Regions from separate parts of the Homo sapiens genome. Here regions 2 and 3 are each linked to region 1. Evidence: promoter capture Hi-C in 16 types of primary human blood cells and fetal thymus (Javierre and others, 2016). All regions are on one chromosome and are shown on one strand. Each heading gives the region's core, a stretch centred on a gene start or on the middle of the fragment in contact. The rest is flanking DNA. Distances are from core to core; before and after follow the strand shown.

Evidence for each region. Contacts are between HindIII fragments. The CHiCAGO score rates a contact against its expected background, and 5 or more counts as called.
Region 2: a contact is called between a fragment that was not itself captured here and the fragment with the promoter of FRMD5 in region 1, in 3 of 17 cell types (endothelial precursors, megakaryocytes and erythroblasts). The highest score is 6.8, in endothelial precursors.
Region 3: a contact is called between a fragment that was not itself captured here and the fragment with the promoter of FRMD5 in region 1, in 1 of 17 cell types (M1 macrophages). The highest score is 5.6, in M1 macrophages.

Annotation. Positions count from the first base shown.
Region 1 is chr15:44,192,439-44,196,749 of GRCh38, forward strand. FRMD5 (FERM domain containing 5) reads right to left here and starts at 2,833. Exons shown (of 14, transcript NM_032892.5): 1 at 2,515-2,833. The coding sequence starts at 2,616. RefSeq lists silencers at 2,164-2,223, 2,334-2,383 and enhancers at 2,717-3,218, 3,219-3,718, 3,234-3,333. The HindIII fragment of the contact is 9,344 bases long and covers 455-4,311 here.
Region 2 is chr15:43,886,525-43,890,274 of GRCh38, forward strand. It overlaps FRMD5 (FERM domain containing 5), which reads right to left. Exons shown (of 14, transcript NM_032892.5): 9 at 2,285-2,348; 10 at 1,651-1,742. Among named protein-coding and RNA genes, the nearest start is that of WDR76, 61 kb to the left of the region's middle. The HindIII fragment of the contact is 1,578 bases long and covers 635-2,212 here.
Region 3 is chr15:43,868,187-43,872,321 of GRCh38, forward strand. FRMD5 (FERM domain containing 5) reads right to left here. Exons shown (of 14, transcript NM_032892.5): 14 at 2,578-4,135. WDR76 (WD repeat domain 76) reads left to right here. Exons shown (of 13, transcript NM_024908.4): 13 at 1-226. Among named protein-coding and RNA genes, the nearest start is that of WDR76, 43 kb to the left of the region's middle. The HindIII fragment of the contact is 4,197 bases long and covers 377-4,135 here.

The DNA of each region.
Region 1 (4,311 bases), core at 1,583-4,082:
AAATGAGTTCAAATTATCACCATAAAATATACAGTGCTACAATGCCTAAAATGTTGGGAATATTGCTTAACCTAATAAGAAGTTCACAGATCCTTTCCATACTGATTTAAAAGATCCTATGCCCAGTATTTAACAAATAAGCACATGCACATATACACACACACTCACTACAGAAATGCATGAAGGGAAAAGCTGATAAGAAAAGCTCAATTTCTAAATGTTCAAAAAAGCTACATGCAGAAAATGTTAATTTCATATAAGATACTGTCTTTTTGCTACATTTCCTCACATGGGTAAAAACAAAAGCAATTCGCCAAAGTGATGCCAAAGAATGACAACATTACATATACTTAACAATCCCTGTGTTCTTTAGATTCCATGCAAAAATCACAATGCACAATCATTAACATGTCTAGACAGTGGACACTTACTACAGTGTGGCCATATTACACCAAGCTTAATTTTTTAGGTGGCCTAGATATTTTATAAAATTAAATTGTAATAATGTAAAATGAGAGCAGTAGGAAAATAAGTACAGCTATAGTGGGATATAGCAAGCACAAATCCAATAAGTCCTATTTAACTCAAAAATATTTTTTTTCTAAATGGTAATAAAAACTACCCACAATTATAATACCAATCAAGCAACCTCAAAGGTTCCACTAACTGGGAAAAAAATAACTATTTGCCTCACTGCAATACTTTAAAACCACAAGGTTAACAATCATTTCTAGCGAAATGGTGATGTGAATTGTGTTTTATTTGTATTCTACACCTTGGCAAAAGTTAATGACCTGCCTCGGAAATTATTTCACATACCCCAAAAGTATTCTTAGGACTTATAAAGTCTAAATCTCACACTCCCCTTGATATGCTATTGGATAAATGCTTTAAATTTTAAAACAAAAGGATAAAGACTTTTAAAAAGCTCTAGACAATATACTCAAATGGTGAAGATATCAACTCAATGTATTCTCATACCCCAGCAAAACAAAAAAAGCAAAAAAAAACTGGACATGGCACAATGATACAATAGGAACAAAAAGTAGTATTCCACTCATTCAGCAAGGAAATAATACAGAGCATCTCTCTATCATATTCAACTACAAAAATCCTTTCACTTGATGGCTAGCATCTTTATGACTGCTTAGTCTGTATTTAAGTAGCCTTAAAAAGAGATTTTGTGCTCTTTCTCTACCCTCATGGATCTTTGGCAGCAGTCAGCACTTATGCCCAGAGCTGGTTTCGAGGGGAGGGAGAAAAGGGAAAGTGAGGAGAAGGCTGAACTGAGCACGGAGTCAGCAGAGACCAGCTGCTCTCATACACTACCCAGTGTCTTTCTCACACACCGCTATTTTCCGCGATTGAGCACTGTCAGCAAAAATAAATAAATAAGGAGGCGGGGGGCAAGAAGACACTGAGGGTAGGACCCAGGCCGACAGTTTTTGTCTGTCACATCTGAGCCAGAAGCCTCCTCCTGTTTTCCTGCTGCAAAGGCAAAGGATCAGGTGAGACCCCTCTGGGTCCAGCTCAATTAGCTTCTCCACAAAGAGCAGCTTCCGGCGATGAGCGCAGGATCCTCCTGGCTGATGAACTAAACACGGGAGCATTGTCAATGTTTTCAATCTCTGACTTTTTCATAAGGGAGGAGAGAGGGCTGTGACTGCATTCCCGGGAAAGACTACTACTCCTGACGTGCACACAGCAGTAGCGAAGGAACATGAGCAAGAGGTTGTAAAAATCCCTTCAAAAATACCAGGTTCTGAAAGAAATGCTGTTGAGCATTACCGTATTGTTGGCGTTTTTCCTAAGTCGCCGATTCTTCCTGGCCACTTCCAAGCCCCAAATCGCTGGGACTTGTTGCTAAATCTTTACCTCACGTCCCCTAGAACCGCCCAACACAATAAAATTTGGGGATCAAAAGGCGGGAGGGGGCCTAAATCTCTAAAACCCAGAGGACTGGGCTTCCTTCAATAGGCCACTCCGCATGGGCTGCGCGTTCAGTTCTACCTTCTGAAAGCTCTGACTCACAAATGGTGGGGGGAGGAATTATGACATAAACCATTATCCTTCCAACCCAAGAAAGATAAGAAAAGCCAGCCATACGTCCTTGCCCGGGCAGAGAGCCAAAGCCTGCGCCCCCGACGGGGCGGCCGGGCTAGGAGCCTACCGCCCTACCCGCCTCCCTCCGGGCGCCCCGGAAAGGTGCACCTTACTCGGGCGGGCTCGAGGAACCAGGACGGGGCGCCCTCACCCAGGGAGAGCAGGGTAGGACTTAGGGGTGTGGGACGCGGAGACTCGCCCCGCGGCGGCGGTGACACACCGGGTGCCAGGGCTCCGGCAGGGGCTCCGGTGAAGACGCCCTGCACTAGGGCGGTCCGCCGCAACCAGGAACGGACAAAGCACGGCGCTGGGGCTGGGGCGACCCCTGGGCGGCGGCCGCCGCCGGCCAAGTTGACCAGACTTGGGGGACAAGGGGGTCCCGCGGGCGGGGCGGGGCGGCGCGGCGCTGACCTGGATGGTGCAGGTGTACTCGCTGTCGTCCAGCAGCCGCACGGTGCAGCTGTACTCGCGCTCCAGGCTCCTGCTGCTGCCGCTCATCAACCTGCTCAGCATCTTCCCGCCCGCCCGCCCGGGAGCGACGCGGCGGCGCTGCGGACCCTGGACCAGGCGTCCCTCAGCCCGGCAGCTCCGCACCGACCCCAGGCACCTGCACCATCACCCCGGCCCCGTCGCTGCCGTTGCCTCCTGCTGGCCTCGTTCCTCCTCCTTATCCTCCTCCTTCCCTCAGCCGCCACCGCCTCCCCCCAGCCCAGATCAAGCGCCGGGCTCTGTCTCCTCGGCGCCCCAGTGCCCGTGCCCAGCTCGCGGGGCGGGGCCTCAACTGGAGGGGGCCAATGGGGGTCAGCGCGGCGGAACCGAGTGGCAGACCGAAAAGCCAATCGAGATAGAGTACTGGGATGATGGGCGGGATAAAGAAGCAATCACAGAAAAGCAGTCGGACCTAGTCAAGCCGGAGCAGCCCTCTAGCGTCCCAAACGAGGGGTTCCTCTCCGCCCCGTGGTTCCTATGGATGCTGTTTCCCCTCCCCCGGGCCAGGTGTGAGCACCCAACTGGATTGATGTCTGCCGCCTGAAATACACTTGATCTGCGTTTCCGAAGCCAAGCCTCGCACCCTGCAACACCGCGGTTCCCGCCCTCTTGGGAGCCGGAGCGAGGAGGCGGCAGGGTGCTGGATCACAGTCCCTGCACCTGCAGAATGCGGATACCTCTCGCTCCAGATAGGGCGACTGCCCCCGACCTGTGCTGTACCCTAAGTTGGCCCGTCTGGCCTCTGTGCTCCAGCCCTCTTATTTTGGGAAACAGGAGCTACTTAAATAAAAGCTAAAGGGACCTCAGAGGTTCTGAAGTACCCAGGTTTAATCCCCTAAAAAACCCTCCACTCTAACACCCTTTGCCTCCTTTTTATTTCAGAAGACAAAAGGAGACTGCTCCTTCAGCTGGTAGGGAGCAGAGGAAGCAATGAATCTTCTCCTTGCACTTTTAGAACTGGAAATTATGTCTTCAGACTTTCTCAATAGAACAACATAGTATGTCAGGAGGTATACATCACAAAGAATTGTCTCCTTCTCTTTGTCACCCCAAATTTACAGACTTCAAGGTTTTTTACCAGAACTTCAATAAGAGATATTCTCCCTCAAAGATTTTTGATGTGAGGAAATGTTATAAAATAATTATGTCGGCCGGGCGCAGTGGCTCAAGCCTGTAATCCCAGCACTTTGGGAGGCCGAGGCGGGCGGATCACCTGATGTCAGGAGTTCGAAACCAGCCTGACCAACATGGTGAATCCCCGTCTCTACTAAAAATACAAAAAAATTAGCCGTGCATGGTAGCACGCACCTGTAATCCCAGCTACTCGGGAGGCTGAGGCAGGAGAATCGCTTGAACCCAGGAGGCAGAGGTTGCAGTGAACCAAGATCACGGCCATTGCACTCCAGCCTGGGGGACAAGAGCAAGCCACCGTCTCAAAAAAAAAAAATAATCGTGTCAACATAGAACATTAATGCTGTAATAAATATATTAATTTAAAATAATGAAATAGGCATAATTTCCTATTACTTTCATTTGCACTGTTCTTGTTTATAGGTATAATGTGTAACAAAAATGAAACTCTACATTAGCCTAGAAAACTATCCCGCCTTTAAAGTATGCTTCTTCCCTAGTGTCTTTGGATTCCAATATTTTCCCCAATTTTTTTTTTTTTTTTTGCATGGGGAGATTCATTCTCTTTCATTCTCTCTCTCTCTCTCT
Region 2 (3,750 bases), core at 174-2,673, 310 kb before region 1:
GCAGCTCAGAGAGAAGCCTCCTAAGATGGGATCCACCTGTAACATGCCCAGGTGCCTATGGTACTGATCCAACCAGTAACCTATGTGAGTCTGAAACCTGTGCTATGAGCAGTGAGTAGGAGCTGTTTCCACAATCCATGAACAGTTCTTGGGAGACACCATCCCTGCCCGTCTCAGGGCTCCAGGACATCCGAGCTGCTTACTGGAGCCTGGGCATGTTCTTGCATCTGACTGGGCTCCTGCCATGGCACTAGGCCAAAGGCAGGACTAGGGATCTGTATGTGAGAGACACTGAGGGCAAGGCCAAAGCGCTGCTGCCAGAGACTTGACATACCTGGGGATCTCACCCAGGCTTTTACCGTTTGATGAGAACATTAAGGAGGCAATGGAAAACTGAAAAATGACCTCCATTTCCAGTGTGGGTGCAGGCAGGGCTGGGTGGGTAGGGAGATCTACTCGTGGGAAGACTCAGAAACTGAGTGAGGTCACAGGTTCAGAAGCAACACTTCTGTTTCCGTGACACAGATGGGAAAACCAAGCCCTTAAGAAATGCTGCTGAAGGCATGAAAAGACAAGAGGCAAGGAGATTGCTTCTGTTTGCTTCTTCTCTACCCTTTGGTAGAGAGAAAGGGAAAGCTTCCACATATGCCATTCCCAGGGCAGGGATAGTTCAGTGTGGAGCAGGCCCCTGTCGGCTAGTGCCTTCCTCTCTCTGCTGCGGAGACCCGTGGGACCCCAGTTCTTGGGCTGCTCCTCAGTCCCACAGGCAGGAGCTTGCATCTCAAGTTGCTTCTCTCTAGGTTCAGGTAACTGGCCAAACCTGGATTACATCCTCACAGGCAAAGGGAGGGTGGTAGCAAAAGAAAATAAATGTTTTCTTGACTTTCTATGGACAGTAGGGACTGAACAGGAGGGAAGTGTGACCATGCCAAAGTCTCCCGAGTATATTCAGGAGAAGAAAGGCTGCCGATTCAGTGAATCCTTGGTTCTGGTATAAACACATAATGGGAATTAAGTAATTCAGAATGCCTGTCTAAGAAACAGCTTCTGGGGCTGTGGCCCTGGCAACTGGGAGGACCCAGTTCTGCCAGCCAGCATCCCATAGCAGCCAGCAGGCAGCAGAATCTTCCCTGGAGAGAAGTATGGTGCCACTCATCCCAGAGCAGTTCTCATCTCTCCAGGATCCTTCAGGTTACTGGAACTGGGACCTGGCCAATCAGGGGCATTTGGTGAGAGCAGGGCTCACCCCAGGTAGAATATACCACACTCTGTCTTGCCTTGACCTCATTCAGATACATCTTAGTAAAGCATAAATCATTACGGTATATTTTTAAAACAAGACCAAAGGGCTTAGTGAGACATATTTTACCTGGCATCATGCCCTCAGTGGGCCATTTCTTCACTACCTAATGCTTTTATAACCACTTTCTTAACCGAAGAAAACAACACAAAAGCCCCACATTCTTTACAAAATCCCTTTGGTAGGCAAAGCTCTTGCCTTTGGCCTCAACCTGGCTTCTCAGTAACTGTCAAGCTCTTGCCCACTTCCAGCTACCCCGCCCCAAGTTCCTGGGCACTTGGCCTCCTGTCACCGACTCTCTCTGACTCTGGCTCTAAGAAAGACAGTCCCCATCACATGTATCCACTCACTTGTAGAAGGCTTGGTTCTCGATTCCACATTTCCAGAGGTGCTTACACGCTTCAGGAGTTGGAGCAAAATATGTAAGAATAATTTTCTTTTCCTGCAAAAAATTCCACATTGATATGGCTGAGTGTGGATGGAGAAGCAAAGGGTGAAGTAGGCGAGGACCCTGACCCCAGAGCTGTTAGAGGCCCTGGCAGCTGGCTAGTTAGAGGGGAGGGCCTGTGGGACCCACTGAGGCAGAGCTCAGTTAAGTGCATCACATCATACTTGGCAAGTCCAATCAGGGTAAGTCTCAGCTGGCACAAAAGTGGCACAAATTGAACCAGGAGAGCTCTTGGTGAGAAAGTTGCCCTTGCCTCTGGAATTCCCATATACACGAAAGAAAAAGAGCCTTCCTTTGCATTTCCTGGAGGTAAAGATCTCTTGAGTGGAAGCTCTGGGTGTCAATAGCATCCCTGAGGAAGTCCTGTGCTCCAGGGCCTTCCCGCTCCTTCATATTGTACCTCCAGGTCCTGACCTTGGTCTTGGCTTAGTATGTGGGTAGCTTGGCTCTACTGGGGTCCCTCAAGCTTGGCTCTGGCCACCAGGAAGCATCCCATCACCCCAGCCCTCCTTGAAGAGAAGGAAGCCAGCACTCACCTCTTTCTGACTTACGTATAAATAGAAAGTCTTTCCTTCAAATTTCAGCTTGGTCACCTCATTCCTAGAAGCACAAAGATAGTGCCTGTCACCTCATTGTGGGCTGCTTGTTCACAGCTAAATCTTGTAGATGCACAGCCCACCCCAACTGGAAGGGGCTCCAGGCACAGACACAATTTTAGCCAAAATCAGAACTGAAACAAGACAGCAGCGCAGTGGCCTTAGAGAATGTTGTTGAAACAGTTCAATCCACAGTTTTCTGGTCAATCACACTATAGTAATAGGGTGACAGGAGGATTTCGGGCTTATCAACAGTGGCTGTAAAAGGGAAACATTTGCATGGAAAGTGAGTCTAGGTAGAGTATCTGGGGTCATTTCAGGATTGGGTTCATAACACAGGTGCATTATCTGGATGGGACTGTCAAACGTAAGATGCCACAGGTAGCTGATGAGGCCAAAGTTCAAGATACAGCAAATAATGAGAAACAATGCAACCAGGTTCTGAGGGAGTTGAGTCTTTCAGGTGACTGTGCCACTGGATGGAAAATGCAGTTTAATGCAGACAAATATCAAACAATCTCAGGGAGCGGGGCAGGGCAACATACCAAAGAGAGAGAACAGATTACATGGAACAGTCATGCAGCGTACTGACCAGGAAAGGGGCTTAGGGGTTATTGTAGAAAAATCCTTGAAGCCACCAGCCCAGTGAATGGCTGCAGTAAAAGAGGCAAACAGGATACTGGGGTACATCACCCGTGGGACAGACACAAATCAGAAGAAGTGACATGGTTACTGTACATGGCACGGCCTAGACCTCACCTCCACATCCACCTCCTGCTCTCAGCCTTGGTTACATTTGCAAAACGGAAAAACTACTGGGTCTTAGGTGAATGTCCCTGAGAGCCATGGAACTAGGCCTCAGCACTGGTTGCTCCTCACTTCCCTTCTATCTGCCCAACATAGCTGCCCTCTGGAGTCTCTCAGCCCTCTCCATGTCACTGGAGGCCCCATTTTTCAACCCAACTGGGACCCCCAAGGCGGTCTTGTCATGCACATTCACCTCCACTTGGCTGCTGCTTTTTTTTGTAATTTCTAAGGAGATTTCCTTCATCTCCTAGGAAATAGTAGAAAGGTAGCGAGAATCATGTACCCAACTTACTGCTGGAAAAAGTTCAGGGGACAGAGGAAAATCACTTGTTCTCCATGCTCCTGAAAATCATGGCTGGGTCAGGATGAGATTTCACAACTTCTGACCACCAGTTCTGAGCTAACACAAGTCACACGGTATTCCTTCCCTGTTTGATTCCCTCTCAAACTCCCTCTCAATCAACCATCAATCTCATACACACACAGTACAATAATGCCAATTGGTTAATATATAGACAAGCACACAGATCACCTAGGTTCCAACAAGCAAGCTAGGAAAGTAAGGAGTTTTATTTTGAGAGTGAGATTGGGTTTACATC
Region 3 (4,135 bases), core at 1,225-3,724, 320 kb before region 1:
TATAATTAAACTGTTCAGGAAACATCGTAAAGGCTTTAGGCTCCCTTTTTCATTTCTATACCAATTAATCTCATGGGTTCTAGAGTGGTTAGTTCTACGGGAATTGTTTTTGTTTTTGTTTTTAAAGATGCTGAAAACTACTCTCAATCAAATTAGTACCATCATTTAAGCTTTGAATACTTGGCAGTAATTGCCTGGGCTCGTCAATAAATGTTAGCAAATTCTTGATGTTCCTCACTTTTGTGGTTTCTTTTGCCATTGTGGCTTCATAAACAGTGCTATTTATATTCAGTTATACTTTATAGAGTTATATCTTCAGGCAGTGCAGGAAGGAAGGAGAATGAGTAGGGACTTTTTTTTTTTTTTATTGGTGATAAGCTTTCTAATGGAGTAATTGTTTAAATCTAGACAGCACATAAAAGAAAATTGTCTCCCTTGGGACATTCTTACACTGTAATCTGTAGTGAAAGGTACTTCTCCCACAGACTTGCCTACAGCTGTGTGGCTTCTGTAATTATGTGTGTATTATGATTGCCTCCTTCGGGATAAGCCTTTTCTGTAAGTTTGGCCTTTATGATATCTCTTAAGCTCTGAATTCCGCTTGAGTTTTTTTTTTTTTTTTTTTTTAAGATACCCAGGCTTTTGTTATGTAACTTTTAAGGAAGGAGCAGACAATTCTCATTTTTGGTTGTCAGAGACTTTGTCAGACTAGGAGAGACCACAAATGATTAGGAATTAATAGAATCTGAGTTGCTTAAGTCCTATTTTAGTATTCTGGTCTTTGAGCTTCCTTTCCACCAAGAAGATTTTGCAAGGGGAGTTCTCCAGGAAAACAGGGAGCCTTAGGGCTATGGATACAAGGATTTAAATCCTTTCAGCTAATGTACAGTACATGGGGTAGGGTGGGGGAGAAGACACACATGCCTTCTGAATCAATCTGAGAAGAGGAAATATATGCCCTCTAACTTCAGATTCCAAAAACTTCAATGTCCTATTGGGCGGTCCTTTCTGACTTAGTACATTTCCCCCTGCTTTTTAGTAGGGTGTTGATGGCTAGAAATAACAAGACAGCAGATTGTATTTTGACTTATTTGGCTGTAAATACTTGGATTTTCAAATGAAAAGGTAGAATTTATGAGGAAGATAACATTTAGTACACTTACACGGAGCTGAAGAACAAAACATTTTATGATACATTTTCCCCAAAATGGAAACTGGGCAAGAGGAAATTTATTAAAAGGGTGCTTTGCTTGTTTTACTCCATTCCATCAGCAGGTCGTAGGGGTCTGAAGAGGAAGCCTGTTCATGAGCTAAAACCAAAAGTGTGTTCAGGTGCAGAGGAGCTAGATTGTGCTAGAGGAACCCAAAGCAGAGGGAGTAGGGACTAGAGTCCTACAGGGGTGTGTGCACAGGTAGTTCTTGATAAGCTGTCAGCAGAAGGGAGGCTGCTGTGAATCGGCAGGGCCACGGGAAGCCACCCAGGTCCAGTGTTTCTTGTGCTTTTTACTCTTTGGATCACTTCAAGCAAAATCTTATGTCATAAAAACAAAAAATTCCGCTGGGGATAGGGTGCTAGATAGCATTTTTTAGGTAGTGGGTACCTCTGAAATTTGGAGGTAACATAGCCTGATTGGTGTTTAGGAGGATGATCTGGCAACAGAAATGGGAGAGTGGAGGGCAGGCAGAATTGAAAAGACAAAGATTAGGTAAGAAGCTAGCACAGTGGACCAAGCCCCCATTATCACCTCTTATCCTCATGGAATTTAGAAGACCATTTCCAATTCCGTAGCCACAGAGTGATGGTTACATAATCAGATGAGATAATGCTATAGGGATATATTTTGTAAATATGTGGTGGTGGTATCATTGTAGTTCCTTCTTAGAAAGTATTTTCTGTGCTCCCACTTACTCCAGGCTTGAGTAAGAACAGCAGACCAGAAGGTGGACAATCTGGGTTCTAGTTTGGACTCTACCACTATGTAATCTTGGGAAAATCACTTAGTCTTCTTGGTTTTCCTCATCAGAAAAATACCCAATTCACTTTAAAATTATTACATATATAGCTTCTCAGTTTTTTTTTTTTTTTTTTTTTTTGATGTGGAGTCTTGCTCTGTCACCCAGGCTGGAGTGTAGTGGTGTGATCTCAGCTCACTGCAACCTCCGCCTCCCAGGTTCAAGCGATTCTCCTACCTTAGCCTCCTGAGTAGCTGGAATTATAGGCGCCCGCCACCACACCTGGCTAATTTTTGTATTTTTAGTAGAGACGGGGGTTTCACCACGTTGGTCGGGCTGGTCTTGAACTCCTGACCTCGTGATCCTCCCGACTTGGCCTCCCAAAGGGCTGGGATTACAGGCGTGAGCCACTGTGCCTGGCCGCTTCTCAGTTTCTAACAGTATTTATCTGGGGGTAAGGACAAGGATAATAGGTGGATACAAGCAAAATAATTATGTTATATGATCCAAGTGAATAGTAGTCAGCTGTGTAAATCCCACCAGTATCCTTTTATCTATGTGTTAGTAACTTTAAGGGAGGAAAAGTAAGACAGGCTATTATTAAAGAAAGAGCCCACTCTTCCATGATATTTAAATATTTATTTAAGTTTAAAAATAATCTTCATGGCACCAATGATTTTATGCTAACTACATACTGCATATGTAGAAAAAAGTACATTGCTTTGAAGGAAAATGTAACTTAAGAGTTTTTGGCACACAGAAGGTTAACAACTATATATTTTTAAATGTATCTAAGAAATTCACATTTGCAGGTAGTTTACCCTCTACTGCTTAAAGATGCAGTATGCTATTCTTTAGTAAGAGTTTTATTTCCTGATAGATGAAGCTATGAAAACCATTGCTTTTTCTACAATGAGATAAACTAATTTTGAGAGAAAATGAGAGACATGTTAGAACACAGTATAACCAGGTTAAAAACTTGAACAATTTTTAAAGGTGGAGATATACCAAAAAAGACTAGTCACCAATCAAAGGAGGTTTATTATTCAAGCACTATTTGAAAAGCAAACTGAAGGAAACTTTTCTATCCATATTTTCTGGGATGAGCCCTGGAAAAAAACAACCCTAAAGTTTCTGTTTACAGAGCAAAATTTAGCTGTTAGAAATGGCATAGACTACTGTACTGTTAGAACTCTAGACACAAGGAACATACTAGGATATGGAATACTGCATCTGTCTCTAATGTGAATATGAAAGGTCAGAGTTGAGGCTATCACTCACTGCATAGAAACACCAGATTCTACAAACTGAGGTAGGAGCACTACACTAAAAGGTAATCTTCTATGTTGCATAAGACAGTAGATACCAGGTGGACACCAGCCCCCTGTCTCCTGACAGCCTTTTCATCTCTGGGTCTACTTTTCACGTTAGTCCTGTGCTAAATAAAGCCTTTGCTATGTAGATGACAAGTGGCAGTGGCTAGTTGATTTTAACTGACCCCTAATCTCTACTAGGATCTCCTTCGGTTTGTATTGTCACTCGATAAATAGATGTTTATAATTCTGCCTAAATTGTTGCTGGTATGAAAATGGTCAGAGAAGCCCTCTTCCCTTCTTAGATTCCAGCTGTGTTTTAGCATTCCAGTATTTGATCTTGCCCATTTGGCATCAGACATCTCTTTGCTGGTTAGTTGTTCAAGCACCCTTTAAACAAGCAACCCTAGTGCCTCCACTGGGAAGAGGTCCCAGATCTTTGATACATGTCAGGCATGGAAACAGAGCTGACTGACCCTCTTCTGCTAACATACTGGTAAGGATCAGTTTTATTGTCTAGAGCAGGATTGGCGTATTATGGCCTGTAGGCTAAATTCAGCTCACTGTTTTCATAAAGTTTTATTGGAACACAGCCATGTTCCTTCATTTACAAATTATCTGTGGCTGTTTTTGTGCTGTGATGGCAGAATTGAGCAGTTGTGACACAGTATGGCGTGCTAAACCAAAATATTTACTGTGTAGCACTTGACATAAGTTGATTGACCTCTGGTCCAGATGAAAGGATGTCTTTAAAATTATGCAAATCTCTCCCTAAGAACCCCAATTATTCCACAGTTGTCATATTGTAAACATGGACATGGTTCTACCATCTCGGGGGACAAAATAGGGGAGGTCAAGTCTACAAGTGA